4 separate regions of the Homo sapiens genome follow, and all the other regions are linked to region 3. Evidence: promoter capture Hi-C in 16 types of primary human blood cells and fetal thymus (Javierre and others, 2016). All regions are on one chromosome and are shown on one strand. The core of a region is centred on a gene start or on the middle of the fragment in contact, and the rest is flanking DNA. Distances in the headings are between cores, read along the strand shown.

What was found. Contacts are between HindIII fragments. The CHiCAGO score rates a contact against its expected background, and 5 or more counts as called.
Region 1: a contact is called between a fragment that was not itself captured here and the fragment with the promoter of GDAP1 in region 3, in 2 of 17 cell types (activated CD4 T cells and naive CD8 T cells). The highest score is 6.0, in activated CD4 T cells.
Region 2: a contact is called between a fragment that was not itself captured here and the fragment with the promoter of GDAP1 in region 3, in 2 of 17 cell types (naive B cells and total B cells). The highest score is 6.6, in naive B cells.
Region 4: a fragment that was not itself captured here is called in contact with the fragment with the promoter of GDAP1 in region 3 in 2 of 17 cell types (fetal thymus and naive CD8 T cells); the score reaches 5.2 in fetal thymus.

The regions. Positions count from the first base shown.
Region 1 is chr8:72,999,724-73,006,059 of GRCh38, reverse strand. No RefSeq gene overlaps it. Among named protein-coding and RNA genes, the nearest start is that of TERF1, 6.0 kb to the left of the region's middle. RefSeq lists enhancers at 1,164-1,706, 3,337-3,879, 3,880-4,423, 4,424-4,966, 4,967-5,511 and 1 more. The HindIII fragment of the contact is 2,026 bases long and covers 3,738-5,763 here.
Region 2 is chr8:73,164,784-73,171,793 of GRCh38, reverse strand. All of the region lies in intron 2 of LOC107986891 (a long non-coding RNA gene), which reads left to right. Among named protein-coding and RNA genes, the nearest start is that of SBSPON, 75 kb to the right of the region's middle. The HindIII fragment of the contact is 839 bases long and covers 2,803-3,641 here.
Region 3 is chr8:74,345,153-74,351,900 of GRCh38, reverse strand. GDAP1 (ganglioside induced differentiation associated protein 1) reads right to left here and starts at 1,498. Exons shown (of 6, transcript NM_018972.4): 1 at 1,323-1,498; 2 at 435-627. The coding sequence starts at 1,439. RefSeq lists an enhancer at 1,256-1,485. The HindIII fragment of the contact is 8,708 bases long and covers 668-6,748 here.
Region 4 is chr8:73,311,286-73,317,753 of GRCh38, reverse strand. All of the region lies in intron 2 of RDH10 (retinol dehydrogenase 10), which reads right to left. It overlaps RDH10-AS1 (RDH10 antisense RNA 1), which reads left to right. Exons shown (of 6, transcript NR_125388.1): 5 at 2,149-2,188; 6 at 4,357-6,468. Among named protein-coding and RNA genes, the nearest start is that of RDH10, 20 kb to the right of the region's middle. The HindIII fragment of the contact is 1,302 bases long and covers 1,473-2,774 here.

The DNA of each region.
Region 1 (6,336 bases), core at 3,501-6,000, 1.3 Mb after region 3:
TAAAGATACTACTCCTCTCCATAAAGAATTATAGACCAGTTGGTAAGACAAGCAACACACACACACATTGTACATAAACATCAGACTAATGAGTGATGCTAACAGTAACCTTAATAGGAGTTTGGTGGGGGTGCAACCACCCAACGGGTTCACCTTGCTCACTGCCTAGACAGGCTGATTTATCAAGACAGGGGAATCGCAATAGAGAAAGAGTAATTCATGCAGACCCGGCTGTGTGGGAGACCAGAGTTTTATTATTACTCAAATCAATCTCCCCGAAAACTCGAGGATTGGTGTTTTTAAGGATAATTTGGTGGGTAGGGGACCACTGAGTCAGGAGTGATAATTGGTCGGGTCAGAGATGAAATCGTAAGGAGTCAAAACTGTCCTCTTGCACTGAGTCACTTTCTGGGTGGAGGCCACAAGACTAGATGAGCCTGTTTATTGATCTGGGTGGTGCCAGCTGATGCATTGAGTGCAGGGTCTGCAAAATATCTCAAGCACTGATCTTAGGTTTTACAATAGTGATTTTATTCCCAGGAGCCATTTGGGGAGGTTTACAATCTTGCAGCCTCCAGTTTCATGACTGCTAAACCATAACTTCTAATCTTGTAGCTAATTTGTTAGTCCTGCAAAGGCAGTCTAGTCCCCAGGCAGGAAGGGGGTTTGTTTGGGGGAAAGCACCGTTATATTCTTTGTTTCCAAGCTAAACTATAAACTAAGTTCCTCCCAAAGTTAGTTTGGCCTACACCTAGGAATGGACAGCTTGAATGTTAGAAGAAAGGTAGTATCGGTTAGGTCAGACCTCTTTCACTGTAATTTCTCAGTTATGATTTTTGCAAAGGCGGTTTCATAGGGAGAGTGTCTAAGCCAGTGGGATTTCATTAAAAAGGTTTGAACAGAGATGCGGAGGGGAAGTACCTGGGTATGAACTGATTTTTTTTTAAAGTAAATTTTACAGGGCCTAAAACACTAGTTTCGCTATCCTCATAAATAGTTCTCAACCCCGACCGCACGTCGTATGTTCTCAGTTGGCTGAGTTATACTTTGTATTCACTAAATCAGAATTTCTAAGGGCAAGGCTCAAGCATATGTGTTTTTCAAAGTATCTCTAGGCGATTCCAGTATAGAACCAGGGTCGCTAGCTACCAAACCATACAAATAAAATGAACCACTCCATTTCGAGGTAGTGGACATAGTATATAATAATGATAAAGAAGCACACTCCTACTCATGAAGACTTCCTCCCTTTTCAGAATCAATAAGGTAATGCTCAAGGACTGAAGGAATGTTTTGAGTTTAAAGCAAAGCAGGTTTCAGGAAGAGAAACATTATCTTAGGCAGTTCTAATCGTTTAGAGCTTTTAACGTATTTAAAAGATCTTTGTAGCCTCTTGAGACTTTTTTAAGTTGTTTTATGCATTACAGGATCCGTGTGTAGCCTGGGTCTGACAGAATACAGAATACAGGCACTGTGATGGTGCGGGCTCACTCTGCAAGAAAATGCAGTTAGTTGAAAACTGGAACCCAGGACTGACTTTCCATGGTCAGTTTGTTTGATCGTTTTGTTAAAAAAAAAAAAAAAAAAAAACAAGGCAGAGTGCGGTAGCTCATGCCTGTAATCCCAGCGGTTTGAGAGGCCAAGGCGGGCGGATCGCCTGAGGTCGGGAGTTCGAGACCAGCCTGACCAACATGGAGAAACTCTGTCTTTACTAAAAATACAAAATTAGCCAGGCGTGGTGGCGCATGTCTGTAATCCCAGCTACCCGGGAGGCTGAGGCAGGAGAATCGCTTGAACCCAGGAGGCGGAGGTTGAGGTGAGCCGAGATTGCACCATTGCACTCCAGCCTGGGCAACCAGAGTGAAACTCCGTCTCAAAAAAACAAAAAACAGACAAAAAACCTTCTAGTGTATGCCGTTAACAAGTCCCTGATTAGCCACTATTTTTAATAAAACACATCTCCCAAAAGCAAAAGCAATAAAATTGTGTGTGAGTAAAAGAATATGACTACAAACAGCTGGGGACCTAGGGGAAGAATCCCGTTTCCACCCCCTAGAAATAAACCAATGCCCAATAAAACAACGTACCCTGGTGATGTTTTCTACCCTTGAATAGAGAAATAACAGGAAGCGCCTTGACCTTGACAGCCCTAAGAAAGAAAACCATGAACAGCCTCTACTTTTTGAAGCAGCATACGAACCACATATATGTAATTTTTAATTTTCTAGGAGCCACATTAAAAAGCATAGAAAGAAACAGGTGAAGTTAATTTTAATCTTATAAATATATTCCAACTATTATTTCAACATGTAATTTTAAAACTTGGATATTTTACTTAAAAAAACAGTTTTCAAAATCCTGTGTGTATCTTACACTTACACACATCTCAGTTTGGAGTAGCCACATTTCAGGTGCTCAAATAGCCAAGTATGACTGGTAGCTATCATACTGGACAGCACAATCCCATGCAGTTAGGATTTCAGGCTCTGGAGTCAGAGTTCTAGATATGAATTTTTCTTTCTTTCTTTCTCGCTTTCTCTTTCTTTCTTTTTTCTTTTCTTTCTTTCTTTCTCTCTTTCTTTCCCTCCTTCCTCCCTCCCTCCCTCCTTTCCTTCCCCGTCTCCCTCCCTCTCTCCCTCCCTCTCTCTTTCTTCTTTTCTCTTCTCTTTTTTTCTTTTGTTTTCTTTTCTTTCTTGATTAGTCTTGTTCTGTTGCCCAGATTGGAGTGCAGTGGCACCATCTTGGCTCACTGCAAACTCCACCTCCCGGTTCAACTGATTCTTCTGCCTTGGCCTCCCAAGTAGCTGGGATTATAGGGGCCCCCACCACGCCGGGCTAATTTTTGTATTTTTAGTAGAGACAGGGTTTCACCGTGTTGACCATGCTGGTCTCGAACTCCTGACCTCAAGTGATCCTCCTGCCTCAGCCTCCCAAAGTGCTAGGATTACAGGCATGAGCCACCGTGCCCAGCCTAGGTTTGAATTCTTTCTCCACCAATTTCTCTTTACCCTTGAGCAAATCGATTAGACACTTTACTCCTATGTTCTTATTTGTAAGGTAAGAATAACAACACCTACTTTAAAGAGGTGTTTGGTGGTTGAAGGACTCAATGAATAGTTGTGGTTGTTGATAGTCTTATCCAGTGTTATCTTTCCACTATACCAAGTGAAAATCTAACTCATCTGAATGTTTGCATTTAATCTACCTCTTTCACTGAGTAGCTTTGTGTGATTGTGGGGATGATTCTTTACCTCTCTATGCCTCTTTCTTTATCTGTCTCATTGGAAATAATGGTTCCAAACTCAGAGGATTGACATCAGAGTTAAATGGAAAAATACATCCGAAAGTGCTCTGTAAACTGGCAACAGTCATTTTTAAAGTGGAACTAGAGCCATTGATAGATGGCATGATTTGTGACTTAAAAACAATTGGGATTGCAGGGGTGGTTATGTGATTGTGTAAAAACTCAGAATTGTACCCCTAAAATGGTTGGATTTTCCTGCTTGTAGGTTATCCTCAATCTGATTTTTAAGAAAAAACAATTTGGGGGATTCCTGTTTTTAAAAGGTAGAAGTTTTCTTTTCTATGGACTTCTCAGAGCTTTAAATACACTAATGTGGATCATGAATTTCTGAGTGAAACATGTCCCATAATTGATCACTGCACTCCTTTTTTTGCAGAACATCCTATATAATTATCGTACTCCGGGAACCATAGGTTCTTGACCACTGAAAGCTTCACTGAAAAATCACTAATGTAAGGCAGACTGATTAACAGAAGAAAAGGCATACAAATTTATTTAATGTGTGTACATGGGAGCCTTAAGAATGAAGACCCAACATCCTGAGCCACAGTAAAGAATACAGACTCAGAGGGTGGCCAGAAACAGGTTATGTTGATAAATCAGCAGGTGATGAGGGAGAAAGTAACAATCTTGGCTAGCAAAGGTGGCCTTGTTATGTAAATGAAACCTCCCTTGGAGAGAATAGATGGTAAATGTTTCTTTTCAGACTTTTAAAACGGTCAAACACTCAGCCTCTCCTGGATTCAAGAAAGGCATAGAAAGGGGAGGGGGCATGGCGGCATTAATGGAAATTCTCTACAGATGCATATTTTCCCCACAAAAGACAGCTTTGCAAGGCCACTTCTATTTGCTGGCCAGGTGGCAGCCATTTCAAAATATGTCAAAGAAATATATTTTGGGGTAAAATATTTTGATTTCCTTCAATAGCAACAAACACAATTTGAGAAATGCTGCTGTAAACTACCAGGCAAATATATGCAGCTAACAGTTATTAAGTTTATTCCATGATATCTAAAGATTATAGAAGACTCAGATCACTTGACCCATTTGATCATGCCCTCCTCCTGGATGCGTTTTCTTTATTTGACTTACAGGATAACATCCTTTGCTGGTATTCTTCACACCTCACTAGCCACTTCTTAGTATTCCTTGCTGACTATATCTCTTCTTGCTAAACTCTAAATGTTGTAGTGTCCTTAACCTCAGCCTTTGAACTTCATTCCCTAGTTGATCTTATCTATTCTCTCTGTTTAATATCATCTAGATCCTGTTGAGACCCAAACATAAACCTCCCTCTCTAAAATTTCTGCTGAGCACCCCCACATCACTGCTTGGATTTTTGTGCATCTAAATTGACAAGTCCAAATATAACCCATACCCCATCAAACTAGACCACGCTTGTCCAACTCATGGCCTGTGGGTGGCATGCAGCCCAGGACAGCTTTGAGTGCGGCCCAACAAATTCATAAACCTTATTAAAACATATGAGATTATTTTGTGTTTTTTAAAGCTCATCAGCTATTGTTAGTGTTACTGTATTTTATGTGTGGCCCAAGACAATTCTTCTTCCAATGTGGCCCAGGGAAGCAAAATGATTGGACACCACTGAACTAGACCTTACCTCATCTTTCCCATCACAGTCAATGGCACTGCCATTCACTTAGCCAATTAATTGGGCCAAAGACACAAATTTCATCTTTGATTCCTTTTTTTATTTCACACATCAGATCTAGTCCTTCAACAGCTTTGGTCAGCTCTACCTTCAAAATAGATCCATAATCTGACTATTTACCATGATCTGCATCTCCACCCTCAGCCAAGTGACCCTCATGTCTCATATGGCCCACATAGTAGCCTCACAATAGCTCTCCTTGCTTCCACTCTTGCCCTGACATGGTCTTTTTTTTTTTTTTTTTTTTTTTTTTTTTGAGCCAGAGTCTTGCTCTGTCACCCAGGCTGGAGTGCAGTGGCACAGTCTCGGCTCACTACAACCTCTACCTCTTGGGTTCAAGCAATTCTCCTGCCTCAGCCTCCCAAGTAGCTGGGATTACAGGCACCTGCCACCACACCTGGCTAATTTTTGTATTTTTAGTAGAGATGGGGGTTTCACCATGTTGGCCAGGCTGGTCTCGAACTCCTGACCTCAGGTGATCCATCCACCTTGGCCTCCCAAAGTGCTAGGATTATAGGCATGAGCCACTGCACCCAGCGATTTTTTGCACAATAATCTGAATGGCCTTTCTAAAATGTAAATCACAACTTGTCATTCGCCTCCTCAAAACCTACCATGATATGTGATCATTTTTAGAATAAAACCCAAACTCTTTATTAAAGACTACAGGGCCTTACGTGATATTTTCCCTACCTAGTTTTTAACCATATCTATTAAAAATTCTGTCTGTTGCCACCACTGCTATAGCCATTCTGGCCTTCTTGCTATTCCTCAAATAGGTTAAGCTTGTTCCTGTTCCAGGGTCGTTGCACTTGCTTTGACTTGATTGTTTTCTCCAATATTTGTATTGCTCCCTGCCAACCCATTTCATTCAAATGTCACCTTTCTTCAGAGATACTTTCTTTGACTATTTAAATATTTTCTATCTGCAGTACTCTACATAGCATGTTTCACTAACTGATGGTATTTTAGTTTTCTCTTTGTCAGTCTCATTAAAAAACAAGATACGCTAAGGAAGGCATTTTTGTCTGTGTTGTCTACTACCGTATCCCCATGGCTAGAAAACTGCTTATCATGTGGTGGACATTCAGTTGATATTGAATGAATCTGTTACATTTTTCTTAGACATGGCTAGAAGAAAATTGATACTCAAAGAGTAGAAAACATTTTTATCAATGAAATTCCTTATAGATTTGAAAACATCAGCTATTAAGAACTCAATAGTACTCTCAGATTTGCTGTTTATCCACAAAAAACAGAACCTTCAGTTTCTATCTTTGCCCCCTTTCCCAATAGGAGGGCAGACCAAGTCCTCTGAGACAGATACTAATGATGATAATGATAATGATCATATCAACCA
Region 2 (7,010 bases), core at 1,973-4,472, 1.2 Mb after region 3:
CCTCAGCCTGCTGAGTAGCTAGGTAGGACAACAGGCATGTACCAAGATGCCCAGGTAATTTTATTCTTTGTAGAGGCAAGGTTTCACCATGTTCCCAGGCTGGTTTTGAACTCCTGGGCTCAAGTGATCCTCGTGCCTCAGCCTCCCAAAGTGCTGGGATTACATGTGTGAGCCACTGTGCTCGGCCCAACGTTGCATTTCAAATGGGAAGTCTGAAGTGTTGTGAACAATCAAGCAGCTATCAGGAGAAAAGCCAAGGTTGGAAGTGTAGAATTTGGAATTGTCAGAATATTAGTGTAGACAGAGACTGTGAGGGTGGACGTCATTATGGACTCTGATGAAAATGTGAACCATTGAGTTGTTTCCAAATATTTGGCTGTTTGGTATCTCATAGATCTGACTGCATTTTCCCCCTTTTCATCAGAAGTTAATATCATATAGAAAACTTCAGTGAGTAACAGTAGAACTGAGCAAAAGATCCAGTGTTTCCAGGATTCTTTTGTTCTGTTTTTTCTTGTGCCCAAAGTCCCATGCACCTTTTATACTCAATGTTCTTCCCAAGGTAAATCAAAGACTGGTGTGGAGGGAAAAGCCTTGAGATTTCAACCAGATTGTTGGCAGATTCTACATAAAACTCTACCTCCAGTGCCCAAGTAACGCTCTGGCTTTTTGCAGAACTGGAGAGAACATGTTTTGCTGGCAGGTGAAGAAAGGGAGGGCCTCAAGCTTGCATTTATTTTAAAACTGTGTAAATGTTTAAAATATGATATGTAAACTTGCCGTCAGACCACTTTTCACTTTAAGCACCCTTGACAGTTAACCATTAGGTTTCTCGGGGGTGGAGGAAGCTCTCTGGGTGTTCTTTGGGAGAAGACAGCAAAAAGGCTGCTTTCTAGGTGGTACAAGTTTTGCCATCTGCTTTTGGCTTTGGCAAAACAAAGGAATTGAAGGCACTGTGCCAGCACGTGGGTGAAATTGAATAGAAGAGGCCTTGTTCCTCCAAGGTCAGAGCTTTTACTGTGGTGACAAATAACTCCCAAATCTGTTTCCCAAGAGCAAATCCTCATGTCTCCATCACAACACTCAAGAGCAGCAGATGGACTACAGCTCTGTTCCAGGCTGTGGGCCAATTCTGGGTCTCCTTTTCACATCTTCTCGAATCTTCTTGTTCTGGAACAAAGGCTGCAGGAGCAGCATGCAGCCATGGCAGAGAGCAGCAGTGCAAGAGGCGGAGCCACGGCACATGCATTCACTTCAGGTTGCTGCTCAGGCGAGCCTGCGTCATGGCCCCCCGTATCCTACTGGCCAAAGCAAGTCTCACAGACAACCCCATAGTTGTTGGAGGCAGGGATGTGATATGAGGAAGGAGGAAGGCGATGCTTGAGCATAGCTGTTCTGTCTGCCACCATTAGTCATTCATTCGTTCATTCATTCATCAAATATTTCTTGAGTGCTAACTCTGTGCTAGCACTGTATCAGAAATTGATCTATAGAAGTAGACCGATCTGCCTCCTGCCCTTGGGGAGCTTGCAATCTAGTATGGGACACAAATAATAGAACCAGCAATTATAATGAAGGCTGAGCCCAGTTCCAGATTCCAGATCCCTTAAAAGGGTAGTGGAGCAACATAGCACTGAATGACCACCATGAACTTTTAGGGATAAATCACTCCAGAATGTTATCATACCAAGGCCTGTAAACTTCTCTAGAACCTCTTGGTGTGTTTCTATTCACCCGTGGCCTTGGACCTGATGGCTATGTAAGAACACATGTAAAAGATAAGTGTGAATGAATCAACGTTTTTCCACTGATGGGATGGAAGATGGGGAGGGGTGGTGGAAGGCTTCTGTTCTTGAAAAGTCTACTCAGGTCACTAGTGGCCTCCTGGGACTATTTATGGCCTTGTTTGCTGAAATAATGTCAAGTCTAGCATGTTACCTGCCTTGATATCTTTTATCCCACTTGCCATCTGCAAACCCAGACCCACCTGCCTTCCTAGTCTGCTCATGTCCTGAATCAGTAAGGACTTAAACAGATTCAGCTCTGTTTTCGGGGGCTGAGGATCCAGTTACTGTTGGGTACTTGCCTCCTTGACTGGCTGCCCCAGCCTTGAAAACTGGATTCCTGCTGCATCCCTAAGCTTTCTTTATAACTTCTCAAACTCTGCCACACTGTTCTGACCCATCCTTCCCAGGCTTCCACCCAGTGATTCCCTGTATATCTGTTTGATCCCCAGTTCCAGGGTTAATAACTGCCAGCACTCATTCAACATCTTTACAGAGTGGTATCTCTCACAAAGCTCCTCCCTGTGGGTTCCACTTCTCCTGTGGCCCGCTTGATCTCGGGACCAGGAGACAGACAGAGTGTTCTCCTTACATCCCAGTGTGGCCTCCTATACCCTGGTGACACACTTTGCTCCTTTGCAAGGAGAAATTCTTGGTTACATTTGTGTGGATGGCTTCACTGGTCTTCAGGGAAGCCCCTGGCAAAGGGTAGCTGCTGCTCTGCTCCACACTCACTGCTTGGTGCAACCAAACTACTGAGAAGGTATTGAGGAGTGGGTTCATGCATACGATGTGCAGACGGTGGCCAGGGAGGGGATGGCTTTGAAGTAGGGCAGACCAAGGATTTCCTCCGTGACTCGTTCACCTTTTCCATGAGTTCTTACACAGACATCGGGTCCAAGGACATGGGTGAATAGAAACACATCCAGAGTTCTGGAGAAGTTTGTACAGGGCTCACCGAGGCTGAAAGCAAGCCAGCCAAGTGGGGAAGCAACTCAAGTGCCCTGTCTGCAAAGCTTTACTGAGATTTATTTGGAAAGTTATGGTCTCTCCCACAACGAATCTGTAGATTGCCTTGCTCTGATTACAAGAAGAACGTTGAGGTCTTCATTAACAGTCATCATCAGATTCCTTCTCTCCTTAAGGAGATTAATTAGGTAAATTTCATTACAGTAACATCAAGTTTCTTGGAAAGAAACCATTCAACTTGAGAATGACTTTGCGTTTATATCTGGAAACAAAGCAATGTGAGTGTTTACAGTGAAGAACATGAAACGTTAGGTTTTAATAGATGTTGATGTCATTCTTGGCCTCCTGCAAATGATATAAATGACTCTGTGAAGAGGTAACACATTGTTAAATGTAACCAAAATGCGAAGAAAGAAGTGAAATGTACACACATGACGTTCAGCCCTGCCTCCCACTTCCCTCCCCTGACTTCGCCATCTGAGCTGAACCAGAAAACCACTTCCCTCCCCTGCCTTCACCATCTGAGCTGAACCAGAAAACGGCAGCTGACATGCCCCATCTGTCAGATGTCAAAGAGAGAGATGGAGGACTCTCTCTCGTCCTGTTTAGTGGGCTGATGGTCTAGAATTTCCAAAGGGGAGCCCAAATGGCCAAGGAAAGAGAGGCCAGGTTCAGACCTGGCTCTGCCACGACTTGTCTGACCTTGGACCAATCACCCCCTCTCTGGGCCTCAGTTTCCCCACATATGAGCTGAGAAGTCTGAACTCACAGGCTTCCAGCAATCATCATAAAACTGCTGAGAGAATAACTTTCCCACCATTTGGGTAGATTGTACAATATGCAGCCATTTGACAACTACCCTTTCAGCCCCAAGGGAATATAGAAGCTTTTTTTTTTGGTTTTGAGATGGAGTCTCATTCTGTCACCCAGGCTGGAGTGCACTGGTGCGATCTTGGCTCACTACAACCTCGCTTCTCTAGTTCAAGTGATTCTCCTGCCTCGGCCTCTGAGTAGCTGGGATTACAGGCACACACAACCACGCCTGGCTAATTTTTGTATTTTTAGTAGAGATGGGGTTTCACCATGTTGGCCAGGCTGGTCTCAAACTCCTGGCCTCAGGTGATCCACCTACCTCAGCCTCCCAAAGTGCTGGGATTACAGGTGTGAGCCACCGTGCACAGCCAGAATATGGAAGCTTTGAGTCTGAGTCCTTGAACCTGCCCAGGTGGCCAATCTGTGGCTGACCTCAGTGACAGTCCAGGGCTAGGACAGTGTTGAAACTCTGCCGCTCTGCTCCACACTCACTGCTTGGTGCAACCACAGTTGTTGAGGAGGTATTGAGGAGTGGGTTCATGCACACATGGGCCCGTGGTGGCCAGGGAGGGCATGGCTTTGAAATACGGCAGACCACGAGTTTCCTTAATGACTTGTTCACATTTATCTTCTCCATGAGTTCTTACATAAACATCAGGTCCAAGGCCACAGGTGAACAGAAACACATCCAGGGTTCTGGAGGAGTTCTGTCAGCTCAGAGACAGACTGTGTCAAAGCTTGCTCTTAGGACCTGCTGCCCCCACCCCGCTCTGTCCTCCATTGGTTTTGCCAGTTTTCAGAGTGTCACCCTATGTGACTCATTCTCACACCATTGCCAGGTGGGCAGGGCAAGTGTTACGTAGCATTGCTAAATGGAGCTCAAGTGTGTTAAGGAAATTGAAATTTAGACACAGCATACAATTTCTTCCATAATGCTGGGGAGAGGGGCGTCTCTCTGTGATCTCTCAGTACCCCTAAAGCCATTCTGCACAGCAGCTTTGGATGATTGGATGACTTTGGGAAGAGTTAGGCAAGGTCCAGAGTGATCTGTATATCTGATTTCCCCTAATAATTAATTAGTTAGTTTGTTCTTCTGTGGAGGCTTTAGGACCTGGCTAAGCTTTTAGTCGTCCTCTAGATCAGGGGTCACTAACCCCCAGGCCATGGACTGGTACTGGTCTGTGTGTGGCCTGTTAGGAACTGGGCCACACAGCAGGTGAGCAGTGGGTGAGTGAGCATTACTGCCTGAACTCCACCTCTTGTCAGATCAGCAGTGGCATTAGATTCCCACAGGAGCATGAACTGTATTGTGAACTGCACATGTGAGGGATCTAGGTTGTGTGCTCCTTATGAGAATCTAATGCCTGATGATCTGAGATGGAACAGTTTCATCCTGAAACAATCTCCCCTGTGTCTGTAGAAAAATTGTCTTCCATGAAACCAGTCCCTGGTGCCAAAAACGTTGGGGACCACTGCTCTAGGCCCCCACGTGACCTGAGTGCTAAACTGGACTTTCTATTTAAGACGTTAGAGGGTCTGTCTCTGAGGTTCCTCCTCCACCGTTTCTGACCTAAAATGTGTATGGATGGAACACGAATAATCAGAGACATGCTAGGACTCCACGGGCCTCCGAACAGATTTGCCTGGGCCTGGAGAGTCCAGGAGATACCCGCAGGCTCTAAGGCATTTGGACCTTCCAAGGAAGCAGGGATGTTGGGCATTTTTGCACTGACTACACACGCCCTCAAAATACTGTGCTCTGTTCTGGACTCAACAACTTATGAGTGACAGGAAAAAGTAAGATGAAAACTCAGAGGTAAGCCACAAAGATGAAAAAGTAGATTGGTAGATGTTATTTTTGCATGAAGATGGAAAAACTAGGAAGAGGCCATTTTGGAGAGAAAAAGTCAAGGGGAAGTTCGGGAATAATCTTCAAACACGTAAAGTTTATTTTACAAAAACAGGAGGCCATTGCTGTCCACGGAGAAGGGAACGAAGAGAGACGTGCATGCACTCTTGGCTGGGCGGATTCAATTAGCAAGAGGAAAACTGTCTTGCCAGCTAGAATGAGTGTCTGAAAGTTGTAAAATGACCTTCTCTGGCACCCTCCTAAGCAGGGTGGATTCTCCTCTTGCTAGTGAGTTTACGAGTTGAAGTCCCTGACAGTAGCAAAAGGGCTAGATCAGACATCCCATTAGCACTCACCCCAGTGGTTGTAATTTTTCACTGAAGACCAAATAAAATCTTTAGATTTGTAGAAAATGGCATCAAGAGAGCAAGAACATTAGAGAAAAAGGAAAATATTTGAACTGTCAGCTCCAGGAATTGTAAGCACAAGAGCTGGGATGCAGGGCCAGTGCCCTGGAACATGTAAAAGCCCAGCTTTGCTTCCCTCAACTATTTCTCAAACTGTTTACAAGATGGAATTAGCTATTCTTCCAAGCTTCCAGAATTCTGTGATTGTGAGTGCTTTTTACTTAAACATTTTTTAAAAATTTTTTTATTTTTATTTTTGAATTTTCATAATTTGGTGACAGAAATTGTTTCATTTTTATTTTTTGGAGACGGAAGTCTTGCTATGTTGCCCTGGCTGGTCTCAAACTCCTGGCCTCAAGCAATCCTCCCACCTTGGCCTCTCAAGTGGCTGGGCCTGCAGGCGTGCACCACCACACTTGGCTATGAGTGCTTTTTAAAAAGAATGGTTTGAATTTGTTTATATAAGCTACATAGGAATGACTCATTGTCCAGTCCATTGGCCACTCTGGAAGTGAAAAAAGAAGAAATAAGACTGTTTCGGTATTGAAGACCTAAACCAACAGTGAGGCTTGACTTTGCTGCGAGTTGCTTGATTTTCATGTGTGTGCATGTGTAAATAATAGCTGGTACCACTCTGAGCTGTGTTTCTCATTGTAGGGTTGGCTCTTAGTACTCTTGCGATGTAAGTCACAGCAATGTGCTGTGCTGAAACGGACAATGGACTCCATCACTATGAAACGGACAATGGACTGTCTCCATCACTAGGAACTGTGTGATCTTGGGCAAAGCCACCTAACTTGCAGAGTTCTGGTTTGCCTATCTCTAAGATGAAGTCTTTAGAATAGACTAGTGTTTCCTAAATGTCAGGCAATTGTCATTAAAGTCACATGTTTACCTTCCAACTACTACCTGTACTTTTATATTAATATTTTCTTTACATTAACTCATTTTAAAATTAGATAAATATACTTAAAAGGTAATTTTGTATCTTATTACACAAGGAATGCTACACTACTTGCCATAAGTAGAAAATAAATGCAAAGTAAACACAATGAAAATAAAACAATGTTATTAAATTCTAGCTAGTAACTGCTGCTTGCCAAAGACTGAGCCTGAGGCCTGTGCTCTCTCTTTACTAAAAGGAGATTCAGAAGTGTTAGAAACATATTAAAGATATATTAGTCCCCC
Region 3 (6,748 bases), core at 249-2,748:
ACTCAGGTATACTAACATTCTATTCTCCTTTAAGATTTATTGCTCTTTTTTCCCTCTTGTTTTTAAGGTGAAACCATTTGGTATATTAGATGAAATCGTCACAGTGCACATTTAGAATATTATGAATTTAAGACTAAGAAATCACCAACACAAACCACACATTTGCAGTTTTTTGCAAGTGAATTTTTTTAAGTTTCAACATTAACATTTGTATTTTGCATTAAATTATTTTAAATAGCATTACACTAGCCTATACAAAATTTGTTATTGACCTATTTGATATTTGTGTGCTTATGGAAATGGAAAAGGTTTTTAATCCCAAACCACCATCATGACACAAGAGAAAGAGAGAGAGGAGAGAGAGAAAAAGAGAAAGGGAACACATAGTTGTGTTGAAAGTAAATCCAAGAAATCGCAAGTAGCCTTAACATTACCATCCAGGAAAGTCTGTTCAAGATAATCAATGATCTGAGTGGCCTCACAAATTATGTTTTCCCCGTGGATAAGGACAGGCACTTCTCCAGTTGAGTTCAAACGCATAAACCAAGGCTCATTGTGCTCACTCAAGGGCAGACTTACATCATGTTCCTCGCACTTCAATGCCTTTTCAGCAATTACCAAGCGCACCTGGAAGAGTTCACACTGGTTACTACAACACATGTAAGCTTTCAATTAAATGACTTCCCTGGACACCGCTAAGCAGCCTTTCTGGGCTTCCCTGTGTTACCGACATTTTCAACAGTCGTTTTAACAATTCCTATTCCTGGAATTAACAAGTAAGGAAAGAACAATACTCAACAAATTAAGAGAAGAACACAAAATAAGTAATGAAATGATTCTGACTGTATTCATTAAACAGTCACCCTCCTCATCACTACCACTTTCTCGGTGTCCTAAACCTGATTATGGGTCCTCCCCAGACAAGAACCTGACATGTAGGTACATCAGCTCTTGCTGAAGACAGTGAATGCGAGAGAGCAAAAGAAGAGATCGCAGATTATGAGGGTCCACAAAGGCACCTCCCTCTGCCTCTCTCCGAAGACCAGCAGGCAAGGCCTCCAGACCAAATACTGAAAATGATGCTTTTTTGTCGCATTTCGCGAGAGGCGGAGCCTGGGCCATAGCCACATAGGATCATCTCCGATCGATTCTCCCCGCTCCCCACCCGGGCGCGTCCCCGCCTGGAGGGAGCGCCTGCCCGGGGTCAGGACACTGGAGGCGGATTTCTAGGTGGACCGGCTTCCCTGGGCGGGACTCAGAAGGAGCTGTCCCAGTGCTGAAGCCCGATCCGCGCCACCCTCCGCCGCCAAGGCCTGTTGTACCTTTTGAGAGCTGAAGGAATGCGTCCAATGGTACAGAATGAGCTTAACCTCCGCGTCGGCCTTGCCTTCCGCCCTCAAGGGCGGGCTCCCTCTCTGCTCTTCCTGCCTCTCAGCCATCTTGGGGTGCGCGAGCACGGGTGCGCCCAGCCTGTCCGCCCTGGACTTCTCCCTCCCACACTGCCCCGCAAGGCGTTTCCGGGTTTTGAGGGGTACCTGCCGGAAGGAGGGCGCGCGGCCCGCTGGGAAATGTAGTTTCGCCGGCGGCAGAGTCTGCGAACACGCGGGGTCTGCGACTGGAAAGCCCCTGGCAAGCCTGGGAGTGCACCTGGGAGGTGCAATTGAACGGTTGTTTTTTGGGTTTGTTTTTTTTTTTAGAAGAAAAAATAAAAAATATGAGACCCTGGTTATGAAGGGCAGTAAGGAAGAATGATGATAGCAAATTACTCTTCGGTTTGGAGGTTGCTCAGGTATAAAAGCAGCAATTTCCCAAGATACTGAGGGTTGCTCTTGGAGCCTGTTCCTTTGTTGGAAAGGAAGTTCCGGTCGACAAGCAAAGCAACAGGAAAAGGATCTATGAGCTTTCATTAGAAGATGCTACTATGACATTAGTGGACTAATTCCACAAATTTGACTAACTGCTGTAGATTAGAGAATAGTCTTGTATAAACAGTAAGTACTTGATTTTGATAATTAAACTGTGCTTTGTAAAAGAAAAAAAAATACCACTATGGAGTCATGCAAAAAAACTGTTTTTGTCATAAACAGCTAATAAACAATGGCGATATAAAATAGCCTAGTTGTTAAACACAAAAATTCTACAACAGTACTGCCTAAGTTCATATCCTGGTTTTTCCATTTTCTAAGTAAGAATAATAATTTTATTGTTTCCCTCATAAGATTTTTGTGAAAAATTAATAATAAAATGTTAAACACTCAGAACACCCTGTCACGTTGTAGGCACTCAGTCTTAGTCACAGGTTCAGTTGTCTTATAAACATTCTGTTATAACCATAGTCAGAATCATAATTTTATATTAGTCTAGTTATTATTGTATGTCTTTAAAAATTTGGCATCATATAGTAAGTTGATTTTAAAAATCTCTTTCAGTAATATGTATAAATATGACCATAGAATAAATGCCTGTATAATTTATCTGGCAAATATTTATTGAGCACCTACACTGTTCCAGACATTGTGCTGGCTCCTGGTAATATAAAGATGTGTGAAATCTAATATCTAACACTCAAGATATAATCTGGCAGTAGAGACGACCAAGGAAATAGACAATCACAATAAAGATGAGAACTGTCTTAGGGTGAACACAGAGTACTATGAGAAAGGAGGGGCAGGCAGCCAACCCAGGTCAGAGAAGGGCCCCTGGAAAAGACAAAATCTCATGAGGTTCTTCCTTGCCTTTACAGTACTTCATTTGTTACTCTCTGTAATTCTTTCATAATTTTTTAAGATTTCATAATGTCTTTTATATCCTTCAGTTAATTCAAGTGCTATAGAAAAGGTGAATTCCTTGCCAAAATTGTTTTTATCAGTTCACACTTAAGAGTAAGAGCGGAAAGAGGAAAACTTTGAAATCGGACAGAGTGGGGTTTAAATTCTAGCTCTACCCTAACTTGAGCTTTCTTGAGCTTTGACTTCATTGTGTGTAAAAAATGGATACATAAAAATTATATGCCTACCCAGATGGCTGTGGGAATTCAAGAAAGGATATATATAAAGCACCTAGGGTATTGCCTGGAATGTAGCCATTGATAAAAACATATGTGTAAAAGCCCCTTCACTGACATTAGGAGGGCATTATATTACATTTCATCCTCTCTCTGTAGGTCTCAAAATTTTTACAACTACCCATATAATCCTCCTCTCCCATTCCTCTTCAGAACTTCATTTTTTAATTATCCACCTTCAGATTCCTAGTTTTCTATTCCATTACCTTCAATAGCAAACACCACGCTTACTTTTGCACCAACCTTAATACTAAATCATCCTAAATATTTGAATAAATTCCAGTACTCGTGATAAGCCATGTGTCACCTGCAGCTGAAAAAGTCCTGACAATAAAGCCCTGGTCCCTCAAACACAACACTTTTCTCCATCACATCCTGCCCACAGCAAAGCCATAGAAGAAACACTGAATGACTTGATTACTTGGTGTTTAGTACAAAGCATTCATAGATCTCATTGGGAGTGTAAACATGCACAGAACTTCTGAAGGCAAATGTATCAATATGCTTCAAGAATCGTGAAAATGGGCATAACTTCTAACCTAGAAATTCCTCTATTTGCAATTTAAGGAAATAATTCTGACAAATTCTGACAGTTGATCCTACCTATTTTTCCCTTCTTCCGTGGTAATAGAAATTTTAGCTGAGCACATGACTGCTGAGAATAAAGACTGTATTTCCTAGGCTCTATTGCAGCAAAACATGGTCTCCTAACTATCTTCTAACAAGGGGAAAGTCATGGATGTGCCACAGGGCAAGTGCTGGGAATCTTTCTTAAAGAGACAATTAGCCCTGTGCCTCTTCTTCATCCCATCCTCCATCCTGCTTCAGAGAGGATGGATTCTGACCTGGACCATGAAGAATGGGGCCACGCCTTAGGAACAGCTGGGCCATGAACTTGGGGAAAATTGAGCTTCTAAAGACACTGAGGAGCAGAACCCACACCAACTTGGGTCTGCAAACCTCCAAACTTTTACTTGAAAAGGAAAAAAAGGATCTTGTGTAAGGCACTGTTATTTGGTGCTTTCTGGATGCTATTGTCTTAACCTATCCTCATCAATACATCAATCTTGTAAAATATAGGTGGCTTTTATTTCTTTATGATTCTGTATACTCTAATTGTTTTATAATGAATGTGTGTTGCTTTTACCTGTTAAAGGTGTGAACACTAAAAGAATATCATTAAATAGATGACATAAGGAAAAATGTGTTTGTTTTATCACAATAGAACTGCTACATCTACTTCCAATGATCTATAATCACTTTTTTCCCATCCCAATAAAAGCCACTGTTGGTAATATAAAAACCTTATTATCCTTTCACATGTTTATTCAGAGCTCCTACTACACTGTGTATTCTGTGTCTATGGTTTTTGTAGATCATAGACATGATCATTGTGGGCTCCTTGAGGACAGGAGCCAGGTCCAGGTAAATTTGTTTTCAATATACATTTTTTGAGCCTTAAGTGCTAGATAGAGAAGATACAGAGTTCAAAGTCAGTCACAGTCACTGGCCTTAGGGAAATCAAGTGTGAAGGCAGAGAAATGAGATCCCAACACAGTGTGGTACTTGCTGTGACATCTAGAAAGTTATAGTAGGAATATAGAGAAAGGCACCTAACACAGATAGGCTTCCCAGAAGAGGTGATAATCTTTACCATAACTAGTACCATACTAACACAATTACCATTATATCCAGGGTGGTGCCCCCACTGGCTCATGATAGCTGATTGTTAAATTTTCAGGAATTTGCAAAGTGGATGTTCAACTCAGCTATTAATCAAAATTAAATCAAACTGAGTTGCATTTAAATGAATTATTTCCGCCGGGCACGGTGGCTCATGCCTGTAATCCCAGCACTTCAGGAGGCTGAGGTGGGCGGATCACGAGGTCAGGAGATCAAGACCATCCTGGCTAACACGGTGAAACCCTGTCTCTACTAAAAAATTAGCCAGGCGTGGTGGCGAGTGCCTGTAGTCCCAGCTACTCGGGAGGCTGAGGCAGGAGAGTGGTGTGAACCCGGGAGGCGCAGCTTACAGTAAGCCAAGATCACGCCACTGCACTCCAGCCTGGGCGACAGACTCCATCTCAAAAATAAATAAATAGATAAATAATTTTAAAAATAAAACTAGCAAATACTTAAAACTCATCACTTCCTAATTATGTGTATTATTATCTATACTCCTGAGTTTATTTGTGTCTATCATATCCATACAAGGCAAACAGTATATAAGGATGTGCTACTTGCATATCTCTTCCTCTCTGTTCAGTGATGTCATGTTAGTGACTTGAAATTGGCCATGGTAGAACTATTTACAGAAATCGGTAAATGCTATCATGTTTAACTTTTTCCCAGAAAGTTGGTTGTTAAATATTTACTACTATACCATTGAATGTATCTATCTTATTTAGTATTTAATAAATTGTTTTGATGAGGAGAAAGAGAACCCTGGGTAAATTTGTGAATGAGTAAATTTGCATACTAATTTGCTTTCGGTACCTTTTACTTTCCTAATCAGCTTTTGCTTCCTTCTCCATTTCCGAGACACCCACTATGCTTATTATTTTTTCATTCTCTTCACTATCCTTAGGAAGAACATGGATATGCACAGGTCAATCTGCCCACTATCAAACACTGAGCACTTTCTCTAGCACATATTCCCAGCAGCAAAACCATGAACTAGTAAACACTGATGAACTGATGACTGCACTGATGTTCAATATTAATACTTTATAAAGAAAAGGTATAAAGTAGAACGTCTGCATCTAAAGATCGCAAATGGCTTTCTTACAATCTCATTTGATCTTCATGATAGCCTGTGAGGTAGCTACCATCCCTAAATTAGAAGAGCTTCCACTACAGTTATAGCTAAAGAAATGAGGTTTAGTAAGTGAAATACTAGTCCAAAATCCTGGAGCCGGTGACAGAACTACATCTCAGACACACATTTTCTGATTACTAGTCAAGTATTAGCTTCTACTACACTATGCTAGCCTTAAACCAAAGAGAGAAAGTTGTGGACTTGCAAACTTTAACCAGCCTGAGGTGGACTTTGGAGAAAAATACAGCCACCTTATTGAAAATGAGTCCATGCAGATGGATACTGTTCCATTAAAGTCCTTGTCAAAATGCTGTATTATTAAACTACTGTCTATATGTCTTTCTGGTGCATCAGATTCTGAGCCTCTGAAGGGCAAAGATCCAATATTATTCATTTTAGTGTCAGGAGGAACCCAGAACAGTGCTTGGTACATAAAAGATGAACCCAAACTGCTTATTAATTAATGGAGGAAAATAGCAGGTAACCACTACCGACAACAAATAACAAATAAAATAATAATAAATTGTGGCCTAATAGTCTGCTGCTCTAGAAATTCTATATGTAAAAGTAATTTCATTTGATAAATTTTCCTATTGATAAATCCAGACTGTAGATCATGGCTCTGTAAACTGACTTTTATGTTAATATTTATTTCAAGTTCTTTCTTCATTTTGCCTATTTCTGAGTGAATGAAGTTCACATGAATTTGATTGATGTTATGAAACAATGAATCATATAACTTCTGAGCCTGAGTCATCTTACCTATAAAATTATGATAAAAAATCTACCAGATATGCTGGCTACACAGATATATCCAATTTAGGAAAATTTCTCAAGCTGGACACTTATGTTTTGTGCAATTTCTT
Region 4 (6,468 bases), core at 874-3,373, 1.0 Mb after region 3:
AGAAGGGGTCTCATTATGTTGCCCAGGCCAGTCTTGAACTCCTGGGCTCAAGTGATCCTCCCATCTCGGCCTCCTAAAGTGCTGGGATTACAGGCGTGAGCCACTGCCCTTGGCCTTATCTAATTTGTTATAATTTTTGTGTGTAAAGATTGAAAACAGCAATTCCCTTAATTCTGATGTTTTTCTGTGCTCCCACCAATTATTCATACAGGTGCCACATGAATTTTTGTGAAGTATCCCAAGGTCTTCCCCAGTCATCATGTAGTACCCCACTCCCAACTCACACCCTGTTTGAGTTTCCTCATCAGTACCCATGAAATGCTTATTCTCACCTGTGGCATTTGACCCATGAACTCTTCTGATAATCTATCCCAGACCCTTCGTGTGTAAATCAAAGTGTAATATTCATCACATATTTATATAGTCTCTCATGCTTTTCAAAGCGCTTTATGTCACTGGAGCCCCCTAATAATTCTTTACTGAAGGTAGTTAGGGTGTTAAACCTTTATCTAATATTATTCTAGGCCAGCCTGACTTTGTCTACATTTCTCTAAGACCTATAGTCAGTACCATTTACCTTAATGCGATTATGTGTTTTATAGTGCTTTGATTTTGATTGTCTTATACTTATTTGTCTGACTGTCCCAGACTAAGCTGGAAGACCCAGATCAATCTTCCAAATATTAAGGGAGAATTACCTTGCTACACTGAGACAGGCACTGTGGAGGAGAGCTAGTGATACGGTTTGGATCTGTGCCCCCACCCAAATCTCAGGTCAACTATAATCCTCAATGTCAGAGGTATGGCCTGGTGGGAGGTGACTGGATCATGGGAGTGATTTTTCATGTATGGTTCAGCACCATCTCCTGGTGCTGCTCTAGTGATGAGTGAGTTCTTGCGAGATCGGGTTGTTTAAACGTGTGCAGCCCCCACCCCCTCGCTTCCTCCTGCTTCTGCCGTGTTTATTGCTGCACCCTCTTTGCCTTCTACCATGACTGAAAGCTCCCTGAGTCTTCCCCAGAAATGGAGTAGAAGCCTCTATGCTTCCTGTACAGCCTGCAGAACCGTGAGCCAATTAGACTTCTTTTCTTTGTAAATTACCCAGTCTCACGTATTTCTGTATGGCAGTATGAGAACAGACTAATACAGCAAGTGAACACACTTCTCATTACTGCATTGCCCAAGTACACTGCTGAGGAAGAGAGACACATGTTTCAGCTTGATTGTATTTCTTTGTAGTAGTAAAAACAGAAAGAGTAATTATGACAGTAATTATTATTTTGATCTGTTACCAGAAAAAGTCAAAAACTGGTACTTCAGGTTATTATGGGTTCAACTTTAGGCTCTATAATTTATACATGGGTATTATATCACAGAATTGAAATAAAGTAACATCACAATGGAATTTATATATTCCAATCTAAACTAGAAAACAGCTGGGCACAGTGGCTCACACTTGTAATCCCCAAGCTTTGGGGGAGGTTAAGGCGGGAGGATCACTTGAGCCCAGGAGTTCAAGACCACCCTAGGAAACACTGTGAAACGCTGCCTCTACAAAAAATACAAAAAATTAGCCGGGCATAGTGGTGTGTGCCTGTAGTCTCAACTACTTGGGAGGCTGGGGTAGACAGATCGCTTGAGCCCAGGAGGTCGAGGCTACAGTGAGCCGTGATTGTGTTATGGCACCCCAGCCTAGGCGACAGAGCGAGACCCTGCCTCAAACAACTAGAAAACATATCCCTAAGTAATCAAGCCTATATGTCTTTTAAAAGTATCTAGTTATGATTAATTGTTCCCAGATTAGCCAAAAAGTATAAAACATATTATTGACGTTAACCAGAGATCATTTTTAAGTTTTGAAAATTTGCCTAGTCTTGGAAGACAGCAATAAACTTAACATAAAGGGTCTTAGTTATCTTTCTGTATAAAAGTTAAAGTATAAGGACTCAATATTAAATCCTAAGAAATTACATCCAATATCAAATTCCTATCAGAACCTGCTACTTGGTTACCTGACAAATCTGAATCACTCACTCACGTGTCCACTCTAACTCCAGCCAGCGGCTGGCTCTGACTAGAAACTCAGACACCATAGCAGGTTGGCTGTAATGACTTCCCTGTATTCACGTGCTCTGGTCTTGCCTGCAGGTATTAAATGACTAATCCAGATCCCCAGCACCACATCAAGGTAGGTGACAGAAGATTAACAAGTTCCTAACTGTTCTTTAAGTGTAATTTGTTGCAACGTTCTGAAACTGATTAATATCCCCTCCCCTTCTTGCCCTGAAATGAATCTGGTGGTATTAAATTAAATAAAATAGTTCCAGTTTGTCCATAAGGAGGGTAGTATGGCTGCATATTCTAAAAAATGTGACGTGGGGACACACTTCCACCTGTGGGACCCTCCCCCCACCCCCAAATTGTCTGAAGAGGAGTTAAGCTAGTGGTTTAAAGGAAAAGGAAGCAAAAAAGGGCGAGGGGGAGAGAGAGAGGAGGCCGGTGGGGGGAGAGAGAGAGAGAGGAGGCCGGTGGGGGGAGAGAGAGAGAGAGGAGGCCGGTGGGGGGAGAGAGAGAGAGAGGAGGCCGGTGGGGGGAGAGAGAGAGAGAGGAGGCCGGTGGGGAGAGGAAGGGAGAGAGAAAGAGAAACCAAACAATCCAGATATGGCTATGTGAAAAAAATCTTTTCCAACTGTGGGCTATAAACATTTGGAGAAATATATTCCAATTTTAAAGAGTAAAGTACGACACATGCTGGCTGGTTGTAATATGAAGCTTTCTTTTGAGAGGGAGATTATTTGTTTTGTTCTGTAAAGCACAGGTGAGTCAATGTTCAGTTTAAAACATGTGATTTCTTTGCCTAATCAAGGACAAATCTGGCCTTCTGTATAAATTAAATCCAATGTATCTTTGCATTTTCCACATTTTTAAGACAAAGATCCATATTTTTTATTTGAAAGGCTCATTAATTACAGGCAACACTGCAATTACTATAACAATCACTCACAGCGTCAACAACCACCAAAGAGCTGCGCGGAGGGAACTGAGAGGTGAAGAAAGCTATCCAGGGCCGCTAATCAGCCTGAGATCCCAGACGGCTTGTTTCTAAAGCTGGTGTCAAACATTTACTCAGCTCTGCTCTGTGTCGGGCAAAGGCAGGCTTGGGGTAGGAGCACCCACATCAGGACCACTCGGGTTTCTTTTAAGCCTGTGCTCAGGTTCCCGCTGGAGCCCAGTACACGTGACTGAGCACGAAGGCTGTTAATCATTTCCTTTGCTGCCTGAATAGAGGCGAGCAATTACTCCAAACTCCTGCCTTATGTCTGGGGCGCATTATTAAATAAACTTTGATCAACATGAATTCTATTCCATACTTTGCAAGAAAAATGCTATAGTTGGGTGACTAGAAAGCATCACATTTTCAGGAATTTTCCCAAGTAACCTGACTAGTTTTCTTTTCTAATTACTCTTGCCCTCAACAGTCTGGTAGATGACATTTGAGATAGCACAGCATATTCTGTCCTTGACACTGCTTGACAGCACAAAGAAATCTGGCACTTTGCAATGAATTATTAATGTGCACAAATATTGTAGCATGTATGAGATAGAGACCAGCAAAAGGTGAAGTGCTAGTTGCCATGACACCAGTCAGTTCAAGCTAAGGTTCATAATCTTTAACTTTGTCTCAAAGAGTCGTCAGAAGAACATAAAGGGCAAATCTGAAACACACAGCCAAACGGCTTTGGTATAGATTAATGCCTGTGACGCATGGGTGGATCTGAGAGGGCAGCACAGATAATTTGCTGACCAATAGGACTGCTGTGTTACATCAAGTATAAGGATGGATAGATCAGGAGTTATCATCTAGTAAAGGGGTCTCTAAATGCAGTACATGTGCTCAGTCTCCAGAGTGAGCTGGTGCCCATGCTGGTTGGCAAGGTTTGCTAGATGCTAAATGTAAGTCAGAGAATTGCACTCTATTGCAGTGTCCTCTTTACTGTCTAAAAAACAGAAGAGGACATCAAGTTCTTCAGCAGGAAAATATGGTTGACTCTTGATCTAGGGGGTCTCAAAGTCAGTAACCAATATATGAAACAGGAAGTTTACAGAATTTAGAGTTGGAAGGGGCCTAGGGATTTTCTTATTTGCAAAAGAGAAAACTTTTAATAACTGACTTTGGCTATTAAATGTAGAGCTAGAACTTTGACTACCATGATTAATTTGATCACAAGATTCCAATACCATATTCTGCTACCAGCTGACAGGGTTGCTGTGTGATTAAAAAAAAAAAGGGAAGGACATTCAAATGGACACTGACATTCCTATGAAACATGCTTAACAAGTCTAATATCTCCTTAGCTCCTCAGGGTTCCTCTTCAAAGCACTGGGCACTTTGAAAGATAACTGTAAAGGTCACATTTGTAATATAAGCAAGAACTTCTTAAACAGACATGTAAGTAACTGCACATAGACGTGACATGTCATAGCTCGAGAAATCTTTTAAAGTAAAGTTTACGCCAAATTAACTTCCAACAGCTCCGACTCTCCAGACCATTCTTGGTACTCTTAATGACAGACTGTGCAGCCCAAAGCCTGCAGCTGCAGTGTCAGGACAAATTAGCCTAAAGTGGAACAAAAGTCAATGTGAAGAAATGTGGTATCCGGCAAGGTCTGACTTTTGAAATTCTGAGATTGATGACATTTTAAAGGTGTAGGTACAACAGAATGTGTTTTCCATATTTGTAAGCAATTCTAGGTTCCTGAGCACTGAGAGAAAAGCAAAGTTAATTTCTCACCGTAGGAGAAGGCCTTATTATTTTTGTGCACATACACGACTGTCCTGTGATCAAGAAAAGGCATCTTTTAAAAGAATCGTTTTGAAATGTTTATCTCTTATTTGAAATCCAAGAAAGAGTAGACATTCATTTCCAAACAGGACCATAAATCATATAACGCTGGGAGAAAGGTCAACACCACCAGCACAGCACAGTTTTCTCACATATGCTTAAGGATTTTCAGAATCTCCAAATAATAGCATGATGTAAACTTTGAATAAAAAAGAACACCATCAAGACTCCACTGAACAAAGAACGTCTGACTGGAAATGCTTACGGCACCCTTCACATGGTTGGGCAACTTTCCTCTACTGTTCCACCCCTTCTGCCTGTGCAGCTGCCAGAGTTAACTTATCTTTATCAGAATCACAAAGGAACACTCTCCTGCTTATTTACAAGGCTAAAATGACATCTGGTGGCGCTCTTCTCTGAGAACTCAGTCACTGTTCCTGGAAAATGATGCAAAAGCACAAACTTTTGCAGGGCAACTGTAGGAGTATTCTTGTGCGTGTGTGTTAAGTACTAACTGCTGATGTTGCTCAAATGTTCCGCTAGTCCCTGTAGCCTCACAATGTTTTATTCATTGTCCTGTGATCAATTCAAAAAAGCCATCTTTTATAAGAATGGTTTTGAAGTGTTTATCTTTTATTTGAACATCCAAGAAAGAGTAGACATTGACTTCCACAGGGGACCATACCTCCTATAATGCCTGAAGGTGCTTAAAATATAGTGAACTGTGTTAAAGTTAATAGGATACATCATTAGTGTGTTAAAAAATGTAAAATGGTGACATACTATCAGCTCACCTGGGTAAGGAAAATATGGCTAAAGTACCTCTAAAGGTATCTACTTATTAAGTATACTGACCAAACTTTAGACATTTTACTTCGACCACAGAAAGTATTATTTGAAAAAAAAATCTTCATTACAAAATTACATATTTAATTAGGAAGTAAAACCTAAATCTGTATTTACTAGCAATGCCAACTTTAAATATTCTAGTTGCAGCTGACAACAGAAATTCTAACATGCATATGTTGTTGCATAATAGCCTCTTTTTCCTAGTTGGGTATGTTTGTAGAGACAGAAAGGTCCCCTGACCAATTGTGCAATAGAGCCCCAAGATACTTAAGCCTGGAACTACTCTCTCAGACTTAACAAAATGTTCATCTTAATTTCTATCAGATTGGGACAAAACATTCACTCTTTAGATAATAGAGGAGAGACTAAAGAACATGTCATAATAGTCAAATTTGTGCCAATGTTAAATCTATCCCTTTAAAAACATGTATTATTGTGAGGCCGCAGGGATTAGTGCAACATTTGAACAGAATCAGCAGTTAGTACTTAACACACATGCACAAGAATACTCCTACAGTTGCCCTGCAACCAAGAAGCTAATAAAAGAGCCAGGCTTTTCAAATGAACACCTCGATGATGACACCATTAGTTATTCAGCAAAAATAAATGCTTCATTAACTTGTCTTCCCACTGTTAAAGGATAGGATGAATTTACCTCAAGGCAGCAACTCAGATATTAACGTTCCCTTACATTTTAGAGCTCACTATGCAGAAATACCAGAAATAAGGTGACTTAAAACTCAATTTGTCTGTAAAATACACTGGCCTTTGGAAT